Regions from separate parts of the Homo sapiens genome. Here regions 2 and 3 are each linked to region 1. Evidence: promoter capture Hi-C in 16 types of primary human blood cells and fetal thymus (Javierre and others, 2016). All regions are on one chromosome and are shown on one strand. Each heading gives the region's core, a stretch centred on a gene start or on the middle of the fragment in contact. The rest is flanking DNA. Distances are from core to core; before and after follow the strand shown.

Region 1 (3,778 bases), core at 388-2,887:
AGGGCCCCAGAGCGGGTTCTCTTGCACAAGGGACACATGGCCTCTTCCCAGGTCCCCCAGGACCTCTTGGGCCTGAGCCTAGAAGGACTAGGCTGGGGGAGGGCACCCTTGTCTGGGTCCATGCTGGAACTGGAAGCTGAGGAAAGAGGAGAGAAAGGAGTCACTTGAGGGACCCAAGGGGAGGCTGGGGGGGAGGCTGGCAGCCCACCCTGGGGTTTCCAGAATCCGATATTCTTGAAAACAGAAGGGAGGAGGGCAATGCTTCCTCCTTAACAGAATCCCCAGGGGAGGGAGGAGGTTGAGGGAACAGAATGGTTCAAGCTGGAAGGACCCTCATCTAACCTGAACCCTCATTTTACAAGTGAGAAAACTGAGGCCCAGCAAGGGAGACAGATTCCAAGGCCCCTCACCGAGTGTGGAGCTGGGGCAGTCACCCAGCCCTCCCTCCCAGATCCTCCCTTTTTCTCGCACCGCTTTGTCCCTGGTGGATTCTCCAGACCCCGCTTAGCTGTGCGTGATGCAGAGATGGGGACAGATTCATCAAGATCTTGGCCTTCTGGGGCATGGTGCCACTGTGGAGGCTTGGGAGTGGAGAAGGGCCCGCCTGAGGCCCCAGCCCAACCATCCCCTAGGGTCTTCCCCCGTGCCCAGTCCTGCCTTGACAGAGCTCACCACTGCTTCCCAGGCTGTCCCTGGGCAATCGGGCTTCCAGAAGGGCTGAACAGAGGCTGTTACGTGGGCCCAGAGTCCCCTGTGGCAGGTCCAGGGCCCAGGCTGTGCCCTCAGGCTGTGGCAGGCAGCCCCCAGCCATAAGCCGGCCCAGCCAGTGGCTCTCACACTGGCCAGTGGGTGGCGGGTGGCTCTCCAGGTAGAGGCCCAGGCCCCGGAGGTGGCGCAGCCGGAAGTTCTTGGGCTTGCTTCCCTGGGCACTGGGGCACTGCGGCTGCGGGGACCCCAGGCCCCCCTCGTAGATGTTGGGGGGTGCGTCAGGGTGGCCGGGGCGTCCTTGGGCCTGGCTCACTGCATCTGCAGAGGAGACAGCGGGAGGGTGGTGGCCAGCCCCCCACAGCAGCCATGAGGGGAGGGTGCAGTCACATACCTCTGAGACCAGCTCACATGATGGGCTACACCCCCAGCCAACCTGGCCTCAGTTTACCTGTGTGTCAAATAGTCTCAGTCCACTGCCTCCCCTGCCCATGCCCAAGACACGACTCCTCTTCCCACTCCCAACCAACAGGGAGGCCTGGGAAGCCTCGGGCCTTGGTACTAAGAGTGCTTTCAGGACCTCAAGTCCTTTCTACTACCCTGTTCTGCCCGCTACCCTAGGAAGAGTATTCTGGTCCCCACAGAGAAATTGCACAGTGGGTTTGAGAGAAAGTGGCCAGCCCAGGGGCTCATGGCCTGGCCCAGTGGCCATTCCCCTCTCCCAAGCATACATGTCCCTGAGGCCACCCCTCGGCTTTGGGCCCAGGTGGGGACAGAAGCCTATCTCTCTTCCTGCCACTCCTCCCCACAGCCCGGCACCTTCTCTTATGTGCAGCTCAGAAAATGCACAGACCAAGGCTTCCATGGAGGGCCAGTGTGGTGGGGAGGAGCAACCAGGACTTGGGTGCAGCAGGGCCCTGCTCTCCCCTGCCTAGGGGGTACATTGGCAGGTCTCCCCTGGCAACTGGTTCTTATGACATCACGGGGAAGACTCCCAGCCTTCCTGGACCCCTAGTTTGGGAGAGGACAGTGCCCAAGGCAAGGGCAGGGTGAAAGAAAGGCATGGGAAGGGGCCAGAACCCTGGGGGAAGTCCCTGGTCCCTCTGGCTGGGGTCAGGCCACATAAAACAGACAGCTCTGGCAAACTGGAGAGTCCTTCTCTCAGGTGATCTCTTGGGGCCAGCTTCCTCATCTGGGGTGGGAAATGAGGGTTCAGGAGTACAGACCTAGGAAGACCTAGGTCGGTACTTTGAAAATGCTGAAAAGGGGCTGGGGGCGGTGGCTCATGCCTGTAATCCCAGCACTGTGGGAGGCCGAGGCAGGCTGATCAGTTGAGGTCTGTGGGAGGCCGGGGTGGGCGGATCATGAGGTCAGGAGATCGAGACCATCCTGGCTAACACGGTGAAACCCCGTCTCTACTAAAAATACAAAAAAATTAGCCGGGCGTCGTGGCGGGAGCCTGTAGTCCCAGTTACTCAGGAGGCTGAGGCAGGAGAATGGCGTGAACCCGGGAGGCGAAGCTTGCAGTGAGCCCAGATCGCGCCACTGCACTCCAGCCTGGGCTGCAGAGCGAGACTCCGTCTCAAAAAAAAAAAAAAGTTAAACATTCATCTTTCCGGACCTGGCCAAGCAGGAAGCGCCATCATGGGAGCTGACGTCCGCCACAAGAAGGACCTAAAGGTTCGGCGCAAAGAGCCCAAGAGCCAGGATATCTAACTGAGGCTGTTTGTTGGTCAAGCTGTACAGGTTACCGTCCAGACGAACTAACTCCACATTCAACCAGGTTGTGCTGAAGAGGTTGTTTATGAGTCGCACCAACCGGCCACCTCTGTCCGTTTCCCGGATGATCCGGAAGATGAAGCTTCCTGGCTGGGAAAACAAAACGGCCGTGGTTGTGGGGACGCTTAACGGATGACGCGAGGGTTCAGGAGGTGCCCAAACTTAAGGTGTGTGCGCTGCCCGTGACCAGCCGGCCCACAGCGGCATCCTCAGGGTGGGGGCCAAGATCCTGACTTTCGATCAGCTGGCCCTGGACTCCCTCAAGGACGGCGGCCCCGTCCTACTCTCCGGTCTTCGCAAGGGCCGACAGGTGTACCGGCATTTCGGCAAGGCCCTGGGAACCCCACACAGCCACACCAAACGCTATTTCCGCTCCAGGGACCAGAAGTTCGAGCGCGCCAGAGGCCTACGGGCCAGCCGAGGCTACAAAAACGAACCCTCTTATTAAAAAGATTTTGGATGCTGACAAAAAAACAAAAAGTTAAAACATTCAATTTTCTCTTGTCACAGACGACCTGATTTTTCTTTTTTTCTTTTCTTTTTTTTTTTTTTTAAGATGGAGTCTCACTTTGGCGCCCAGGCTGGAGTGCAGTGGCGCGATCTCGGTTCACTGCAACCTCCGCCTCCCGAGTTCAAGAGCTTCTCCTGCCTCGGCCTCCCCAGCAGGTGGGATTACAGGCACCCACCACCACGCCCAACGGATCTTTGTATTTTTAGTAGAGACAGGCTTTCGCCATGTTGGCCAGGCTGGTCTCAAACTCCTGACGTCAGGTGATCCGCCCACCTCGGCCTCCCAAAGTGCTGGGATTACAGGCATGACCCACCGCGCCCAGCAACCTGATCTTGTATGTAGGAAATATTAAATAATTCATACTTGAAAAAAAAAAATCCTGAACCTAGTAGAGCTTTTTCAGAGCTAATGAAGTTCAGAAAAATCTCAAGTCATAAAATCACCACACAAAAATTAATTGTATTTCTAGATACTAGCAAAGAATAAAAAGAATAAAATAGGAATACATTTAACCAAGGAGGTATAAGACAACTCTGAATACTATAAAACATTGCTGAGAGAATCTAAAGACTTAAATAAATTGGAAAGCATCACATGTTCATGGACTGAAGACTTAATATTGTTAAGATAGCAACACTCCCCAAAGTGCTCAGTACAATTCTTATCAAAATCAAAATGGCCTTCATGTAGTGTATTAGGCTTCTCCAGAGAAATATAGTCAGCAGAATGTATATAGATATTTACAGAGAAAATATTTATTAGAGGATAAATAAATCTCCTTAT
Region 2 (3,778 bases), core at 644-3,143, 440 kb before region 1:
CCTCCACGGCCACCCTTACACCTCACTCCCCTCTCCCCAGGGTACGTTCCTTCCCCCAGAGCTCCCAGCTGAGCCAGGAGACCGTGCGGGTCCTCATGAGCTATGCCCTGATGGCCTGGGGCATGGAGTCAGGCCTCACATTTCATGAGGTGGATTCCCCCCAGGGCCAGGAGCCCGACATCCTCATCGACTTTGCCCGCGCCTTCCACCAGGACAGCTACCCCTTCGACGGGTTGGGGGGCACCCTAGCCCATGCCTTCTTCCCTGGGGAGCACCCCATCTCCGGGGACACTCACTTTGACGATGAGGAGACCTGGACTTTTGGGTCAAAAGGTAAAATCTCCTCTCTTATGAGAGATCCTCTTGCCAGGTCTGGTCTTAAGAATAAGTTTTCTGTTGTGTGTTTTGTTTTGTTTAAGAAACAAGGTCTTGCTCTGTTGCTCAGGCTAGAGTGCAGTGGTGCAATCATAGCTAACTGCAACCACGAACTTCTGGCTCAAGCAATCCTCCCACCTCAGACTCCAGAGTAGCTGGGATCACTGGTGCACACCACCATACCTGGCTATTTTTTTTGTTTGTTTTTTTTACTTTTTGTAGAAACAGGGTCTCATTATCTTGCTCAGGCTGGAGTGCAGTTGCACGATCACGGCTCACTGCAGCCTTCACCTCCTGGGCTCAAGTGATCCTCCCTCCTCAGCCACCACGTAGCCAGGACCACAGATGTGCACCACCACACCTGGCTAGTTTTAAAACTTTTTGTAGAGATGGGGCTTCACTATGTCACCAGGGCTGGTCTTGAACTCCTGGGCTCAAGTGATCCTCCCATCTTGGTCTCTCAAAGCATTGGGATTATAAGCATGAGCCACCACTCCTGGCCAATAATTAGGTTTAAATTATATTTACTGATGGAGGCTTTATCAGCTGGGAGGTCTCCAGAGAAACAAAACCAACAGGATGTGTGTGTGTGTGCACGTGTGTGTGGGATGTGTGTGTGTGTGTATGTGTGTGGGGGGGGTGTGTGTGTGCGTGTGTGTAAAGAGATTTATTTTAAGGAATTGGCTCACGGGATTGTAGGGGATAGCAAGTCCAAAATTTGTACGGCAGGCTGGCAACTCAGGATTTCAGTGACAGTCTGGAGGCAGAATTCCTTCCTCTCCAGGAAACCTTAGCTTTAGCTCTCAAGGCCTTGAACTGATTGGCTCTGCCCCCACCCCACCCCCAGCCACACTATGGAGCATGATCTACTTGACTTAAGGTCAACTGATTGTAGATGTTAATTGCATCTACAAAGACCTTCACCATGGCATCTAGACTGGTGTTTCACCAACCAGCTGGGCACGACAGCCGGGCCAAACTGACACACACAATGAACCATCACAGAGGCCTAGCAGGTGCCTAGCTCCAAGCCAGAGCTGGGGGCTTGCGGAGACGAAAACAAATCTTTACCTGGCAGCTGAGTCAGAAGAGTGACTGGCAATGACAACACCCACGGTGACACAGCTCCACAGAATCCCAGCAGAGGAAGTCCTCAAGCCTGCAGGGGCTCAGAGATGTTGGCCCAAAGCTCTTGGGCAAGGGGAGGCTTCCTAGAAGAGGTGACTTCGTTCCCTCAATATATATATGAATATAGGCCGGGCGTGATTGCTTTCATCTGTAATCCTAGCACTTCGGGAAGCACAGGTGGGTGGATCACCTGAGGTCAGGAGTTTGAGACCAGCCTGACCAACATGTTGAAACCCCGTCTCTACTAAAAATACAAAAAATTAGCCGGGTGTGGTGGTGCAAGCCTGTAATCCCAGCTACTGGAGAGGCTGAGGCAGGAGAATCAGTTGAATCCTGGAGGCAGAGGTTGCAGTGAGCCGAGATCGTGCCACTGCACTCCAGCCTGGGCAACAAGAGCAAAACTCCATCTCAAATATATATATATATATATATGAATATCCACACATACACACTGAGTGACTACTAGCACAAGACAAGACATACAGAGTTCCGCTCTCCCCAGGTACACAGGGTTGAGATCCAATGGGAAAGCAGTGAGCCAGCTGAGTCAGGGGTAAGAGGAGCCAGTGACCAGAGAAATGACCCGGGACATATGAGGCCAGAAGCCAAAACTATGGCATCAGTAGGGAGACTGCAGAAGGCGGCAGGTCCTGGATCACCAAGGACCTTGAAAGCATGTGGAAGACTTTGATCAATGGGGGAATCATTAAGGGGTTTTGCATTCCGGAACTATCATCAGCTTCAGCGGGGGGCAGGGGGTAGGATAGAGGCAGGGAGGCAGGAAGTTCTCGCAGGGTCCAGGCAAGAGATGGTGGAGTGTGGTCCTGGGGAAGGGGGCAGTGGACGGATCTGAGGGAGGTTCAGTTAGGATGGGCAAGGATTGAGATCTGGCTGGATCCTGGTGACAGGGGAGATGAGGCTGGGGCCCTTGGAGGATGGCGTCCTGGTGCTGTTAATGCAGGTGTGAGAGTGGGAGGAGGAGGAGCAGGCTGGCAGAAGGCAGGCACAAGTGCAGGTCTGGGCGGGAGTCTGCAGCGCTCTGGGCTGGCCACACCGGTGGGGCAAGGGAGGTGGAGGATCCTGCCCTAGAGCTTGGTCTCCTCTGTCTGAGGTCAGGTTCCCCAGAGGTGGGGCTCCAGAGGGAAATTCTTGTGCAAGCAGTTTCTCAGGGGCCATGTGCTGAGGGGAATGGGGAGCAGGAACAGCCTAGAAGCTGAGTGAGGATGTGGTCTCAGCTGGAGAGGAGGCTGATCGCATGGGAGCTCTGCAGCAGGGATGGCAATGCCGGGGAGGCGGTCCCGCCTGAGGCCAGGCCCAGCTCTTTGCAGCCCCATATTAACTACATTGGCTGCTGGGGAGCCTGAGTGACGGGGGAAGGGGGCAGCCAGGGAGGGTGCCTAGGCCCTGTGGAGGGCTTGGTAAGGCAGAGGCTGGGGAGGCTGTGTGCCTCAACATTCACATATGGGCTTCGGCTGGGCGTGGTGGCACATGCTTGTAGTCCCAGCTACTCAGGAGGCTAAGGCAGGAGGATTGCTTGAGTCAGGGAGGTTGAGACTGCAATGAGCTGTGTTCACACCACTGCACTGCGGCCTGGGTGACAAAGTGAGACCCTGTCACACACACAGAAAAAGAGAATGTGGGCTTCAAAGCTGAATTCAAGTAAGTCAGGGTTCTTCCACTTGTAATGAACAACTTCCTTAACCTCATTGTCTCAGGTTCCTCGCCTGAGAAATGCGAGGAGAACGGCGCCTGCTGGTGGCGTGGGCTTGCCGATGAAATGAGCCATTCACCCATGCCTCTCAGCACAGGGCCTGCCCTGGGCCGCATACTGTGCATTGTCAGCTGCTGTCGGAGCTGGGCTAGCGGCCGCCTTGAGAGCCAGCAGTCCACGGGGGTTGGCGAGCTTCTGGGAGGAAAGGGTGGAACGTGACTGTCAGGTACAGAGCTACAGAGAACCCCAGCATGAAGGAGTAGGTGGCAGGGGAGAAGGACTCAACAGAGATGGAGAAAGACTAAGCCCAAAGGTGATCAACAACAAGAGTGAAGGAGGAAGTGGTCAGCTGTGGCTGGGGCAAAACAAGCCCAGTAAGTTACATTGGCCTGTGTTTGGTCATCCAGGGACAAAGTGACCTTTTTAGTGCCTGTAGGCCCAGCGCGTTGGGGAAGAATTTAGAATGCAGTGGGGATAGGTGTGAGAGGAGCGGGGGAAGTGAAGATTGAGTTGAGACCACTGGCTGGAGAACTTGACCGGGAAGGGAGGGCAGAGAGCAGCATG
Region 3 (3,778 bases), core at 748-3,247, 280 kb before region 1:
TCAACTGATTGGATAAGGCCCACCCACATTATGGAGGCTAATCTGGTGTACTCAAGTTCTATTGATTTAAATGTTAATCTCATCTTAAAAATACTCCCCAAAAAGAAAAATAAGAAAGAAAGAAAGAAAGAAGGAAAGAAAGAGGAAAGAAAAGAGAAAGAAAGAAAGAGAGAGAAAGAAAGAAAGAAAGAGGAAAGAAAAGAAAGAGAAAGAAAGAGAGAGAGAGAAAGAAAGAAAGAAAGAAAGAAAGAAAGAAAGAAAGAAAGAAAGAAAGAAAAGAAAAGAAAAGAAAGAGAAGAAAGAGGGCTGGGCGCGGTGGCTCACGCCTGTAATCCCAGCACTTTGAGAGGCCGAGGTGGGTGGGTCACGAGGTCAAGAAATCAAGACCATCCTGGGCAAAATGGTGAAACCCTGTCTTTACTAAAAATACAAAAAATTAGCTGGGCGTGGTGGCGCGTGCCTGTAGTCCCAGCTACTCGGGAGGCTGAGGCAGGAAAATCACTCGAACCTGGGAGGTGGAGGTTGCAGTGAGCCGAGATTGCGCCACTGCACTCCAGCCTGGCGACAGAGCGAGACTCCGTCTCAAAAAAAAAAAAAAAAGAAAGAAAGAAAGAGGCGCCAGGCGGGGTGGTTCACGCCTGTAATCCCACCACTTTGGGAGGCTGAGGTCAAGAGATCGAGACCATTATGGCCAACAATGTGAAACCCTGTCTCTACTAAAAATACAAAAATTAGCTGGGCATGGTGGTACGTGCCTGTAGTCCCAGCTACTCGGGAGGCTGAGGCAGGAGAATCTCTTGAACCCGGGAGGTGGAGGTTGCAGTGAGTTGAGATCAAACCACTGAACTCCAGCCTGATGACAGAGTGAAACTCCATCTCAAAAAAAAAAAAAAAAAAAAAAAGAGAATGGGACAGAGAGAAGGTGATTGGATTTATACATTGTAGCCAAGCATGTAGTGATAGCTTTGCTCAATCCTGGTTCCAAATACTCTGGTTCAACCAGCTATGGTGAAGGGGAGGTGGTAGAAACACGACTCCTGGGGCTCCACCACATTGTGCCTATGCAGATTAGGAAGCTCTATCCCAAGAAAAGGGCAAACCATGTGAGTTGCAGGGACATCCCCAAAGATGTCCATCCTAGGGGTCTAGAGTTCATAAATCACGGCATCCTGGATTCTCCTGGAGAAAACCTCCCTTACAATCAGACTACCCTTCATCTCAAACATTTTCTTTTTCCTTTTTTTTTTTTTTTTGAGACAGAGTCTTGCTCTATTGCCCAGGCTGGAGTGCAGTGGCACGATCTCGGTTCACTGCAACATCCACCTCCTGGGTTCAAGTAATTATTGTGCCTCACCCTCCCAAGTAGCTAGGACTACAGGCACATGCCACCATGCCTGGCTAATTTTTGTATTTTTAGTAGAGACTGGGTTTCACCATGATGGCCAGGCTGGTCTCGAACCCCTGACCTTAGGTGATCTGCCCACCTTGGCTTCCCAAACTTTTGGGTTACAGGCGTGAGCCACTGTGCCTGACCCCAAACATTTTCACGAATTAAGCCCATCTCAGTAATGTGCTCGTAACATTCCCTCCTGTAAAATGGAAAACACGAAGCATCACTAATGTCTTAAGATGACCAGGCAGAGGAAAGCAAGGGCTACACAGAAAACACGGAAGAGCCCCATATCTCAACAAAGGAAGTGATACTGCAAAGGATTTCATGACAGAATTTCCACACCTGTGGGCACAGGAGCAGATCACAAGGTGAGGAGGTTTGTGGTTCCAAGGAATCTTGTCTGCGATTTATCTGTATCAGGATGGCTTCATTTCTAATATCTACAAGTTTTGGTCCAAGAGTTTTATCTAAACGTTAGATAATATTGAATGTCGTCGTTGTTTGGTCCAAAGGGGCCAAAATTAGGTGGGACAATTATGTTCTTCTTGTCCCTAATGAGGCTCTCAGGGAATCTGGTCCCAGTGGCCAAAGGAGGTTCCTACAAATGCCTGCTCTGTGATTGCCCCAAACATTTACTTACACAGAGGACTAAGACCATGAGCCCCTACTCCTCACACACTCAGGACCCGCCTGTGTTTCCAAGACATTCCAACTCCCACAGTAAGTAGAAGCATTGACCAGTTATGTAGAAATGAGGAACAACTGAGAGTGACAGCACCAACCTTCTCCAGGAAAGGTCGCAGAGGTGAACAATTAAGTATGTGTTGGCTCAGATGTGAAGTTCTTTTAGGAATCTTCTTTGCTACATCATCCAGATACAGGAAGTAATGAGTAATGTACAGAGAAGTGAAGTACAGGAGTCCTGAATCCATCAGTTGTCACTTGAGATTAACCCAGTAATCATCAGTCATTCCTCCAGTCTCTTTATGAGCTGCTAACTAGTTGGGTGGGGAACTGAATGTACCAGAGACACACACATTCTCAGAGTCAGGCTATGTGTACGTGTCTGTGTGTTTTGTTTTCTTTTCTTTTTTAATAGAGATGGGGTCTTGGTATGTTGTCCAGGCTGGTCTTGAACTCCTGGCCTCAAGCCATCTTCCCTCTTTGGCCTTCCAAAGTTCTAGGATTACAGGCATGAGCCACCATGCCCAGCCTGTCTGTGTTTTCAACGTTAAATATGCAAAATAAGAATCAGTGAGTCGTCTAGGAAAAGCATCGTAACTGAGTGTTGGAAATTGGACGTATGGGTGAGGAGACCACATCCTGTTTTTGCAAGTTTGTGAATTGATTTGCAAACGTGGTTCTTCCTGGAGCCTCATCACATCTTAACCACCCATGTGTATGTTTCTGAATTCACTGTCTTCTATGCAGCTGGGTCCAGACATATGAGAGGGACAAACCAGTGAGTGTCTCCGAGTTCCTCCTCTTGGGACTCTCCAGGCAGCCCCAGCAGCAGCATCTCCTCTTTGTGTTCTTCCTCAGCATGTACCTGGCCACTGTCCTGGGGAACCTGCTCATCATCCTGGCCATAAGCATAGACTCCCGCCTGCACACCCCCATGTACTTCTTCCTCAGCAACATGTCCTTTGTGGACAACTGCTTCTCCACCACCGTCCCCAAGATGCTGGCCAATCACATACTCAGGACTCAAACCATCTCCTTCTCTGGCTGTCTCATGCAGATGTATTTTATCAGTGAGCTTGCTGACATGGACAATTTCCTCCTGGCTGTGATGGCCTATGACCGCTTTGTCGCCGTGTGCCGCCCCTTACATTACACAGCAAAGATGACCCATCAGCTCTGTGCCCTGCTGGTCACTGGATCATGGGTGGTTGCCAACTCGAATGCTCTGCTGCACACCCTGCTGATGGCTCGACTCTCATTCTGTGCAGACAACACCATCCCCCACATCTTCTGCGATGTGACTCCCCTCCTGAAACTCTCCTGTTCAGACACACACCTCAGTGAAGTGATGATTCTTACTGAGGCTGCCCTAGTCACGATCACCCCATTTCTTTGCCTCCTGGCTTCCTATATGCACATCACCTGCGTTGTCCTGAGGGTCCCATCCACAAAGGGAAGATGGAAAGCCTTCTCCACCTGTGGCTCCCACCTGGCTGTGGTTCTCCTCTTCTATGGCACCATCATGTCTCCATATTTCAGAACTTCATCCTCCCACTCAGCTCAGAGAGATATAGCAGCTGCTGTGAGGTTCACAGTGGTGACTCCCGTGATGAATCCTTTGATCTACAGCCTGAGGAACAAGGACATAAAAGGGGCTCTTGTAAAAGTGGTTGCTGTGAAATTTTTTTCTGTTCAATAATG

What was found. The method cuts DNA at HindIII sites, captures the fragments that hold promoters and counts their contacts. A CHiCAGO score of 5 or more calls a contact.
Region 2: a contact is called between a fragment that was not itself captured here and the fragment with the promoter of C16orf90 in region 1, in 1 of 17 cell types (naive CD8 T cells). The highest score is 5.3, in naive CD8 T cells.
Region 3: a contact is called between a fragment that was not itself captured here and the fragment with the promoter of C16orf90 in region 1, in 1 of 17 cell types (M2 macrophages). The highest score is 5.2, in M2 macrophages.

The regions. Positions count from the first base shown.
Region 1 is chr16:3,493,852-3,497,629 of GRCh38, forward strand. It overlaps C16orf90 (chromosome 16 open reading frame 90), which reads right to left and starts at 1,638. Exons shown (of 3, transcript NM_001080524.2): 1 at 1,525-1,638; 2 at 673-1,026; 3 at 1-136. The coding sequence starts at 1,570. It also overlaps a transcript of CLUAP1 not described here and the pseudogene RPL18P12. The HindIII fragment of the contact is 6,628 bases long and covers 1-2,223 here.
Region 2 is chr16:3,050,214-3,053,991 of GRCh38, forward strand. MMP25 (matrix metallopeptidase 25) reads left to right here. Exons shown (of 10, transcript NM_022468.5): 4 at 41-333. LOC124900372 (sialidase-like) reads right to left here. Exons shown (of 3, transcript XM_047435000.1): 3 at 3,141-3,778. The coding sequence ends at 3,594. MMP25-AS1 (MMP25 antisense RNA 1) reads right to left here. Exons shown (of 5, transcript NR_123723.1): 5 at 1,912-3,409. Among named protein-coding and RNA genes, the nearest start is that of MMP25, 5.5 kb to the left of the region's middle. The HindIII fragment of the contact is 5,966 bases long and covers 1-3,778 here.
Region 3 is chr16:3,212,774-3,216,551 of GRCh38, forward strand. It overlaps the pseudogene OR1F2P. Among named protein-coding and RNA genes, the nearest start is that of ZNF200, 20 kb to the right of the region's middle. The HindIII fragment of the contact is 7,571 bases long and covers 1-3,778 here.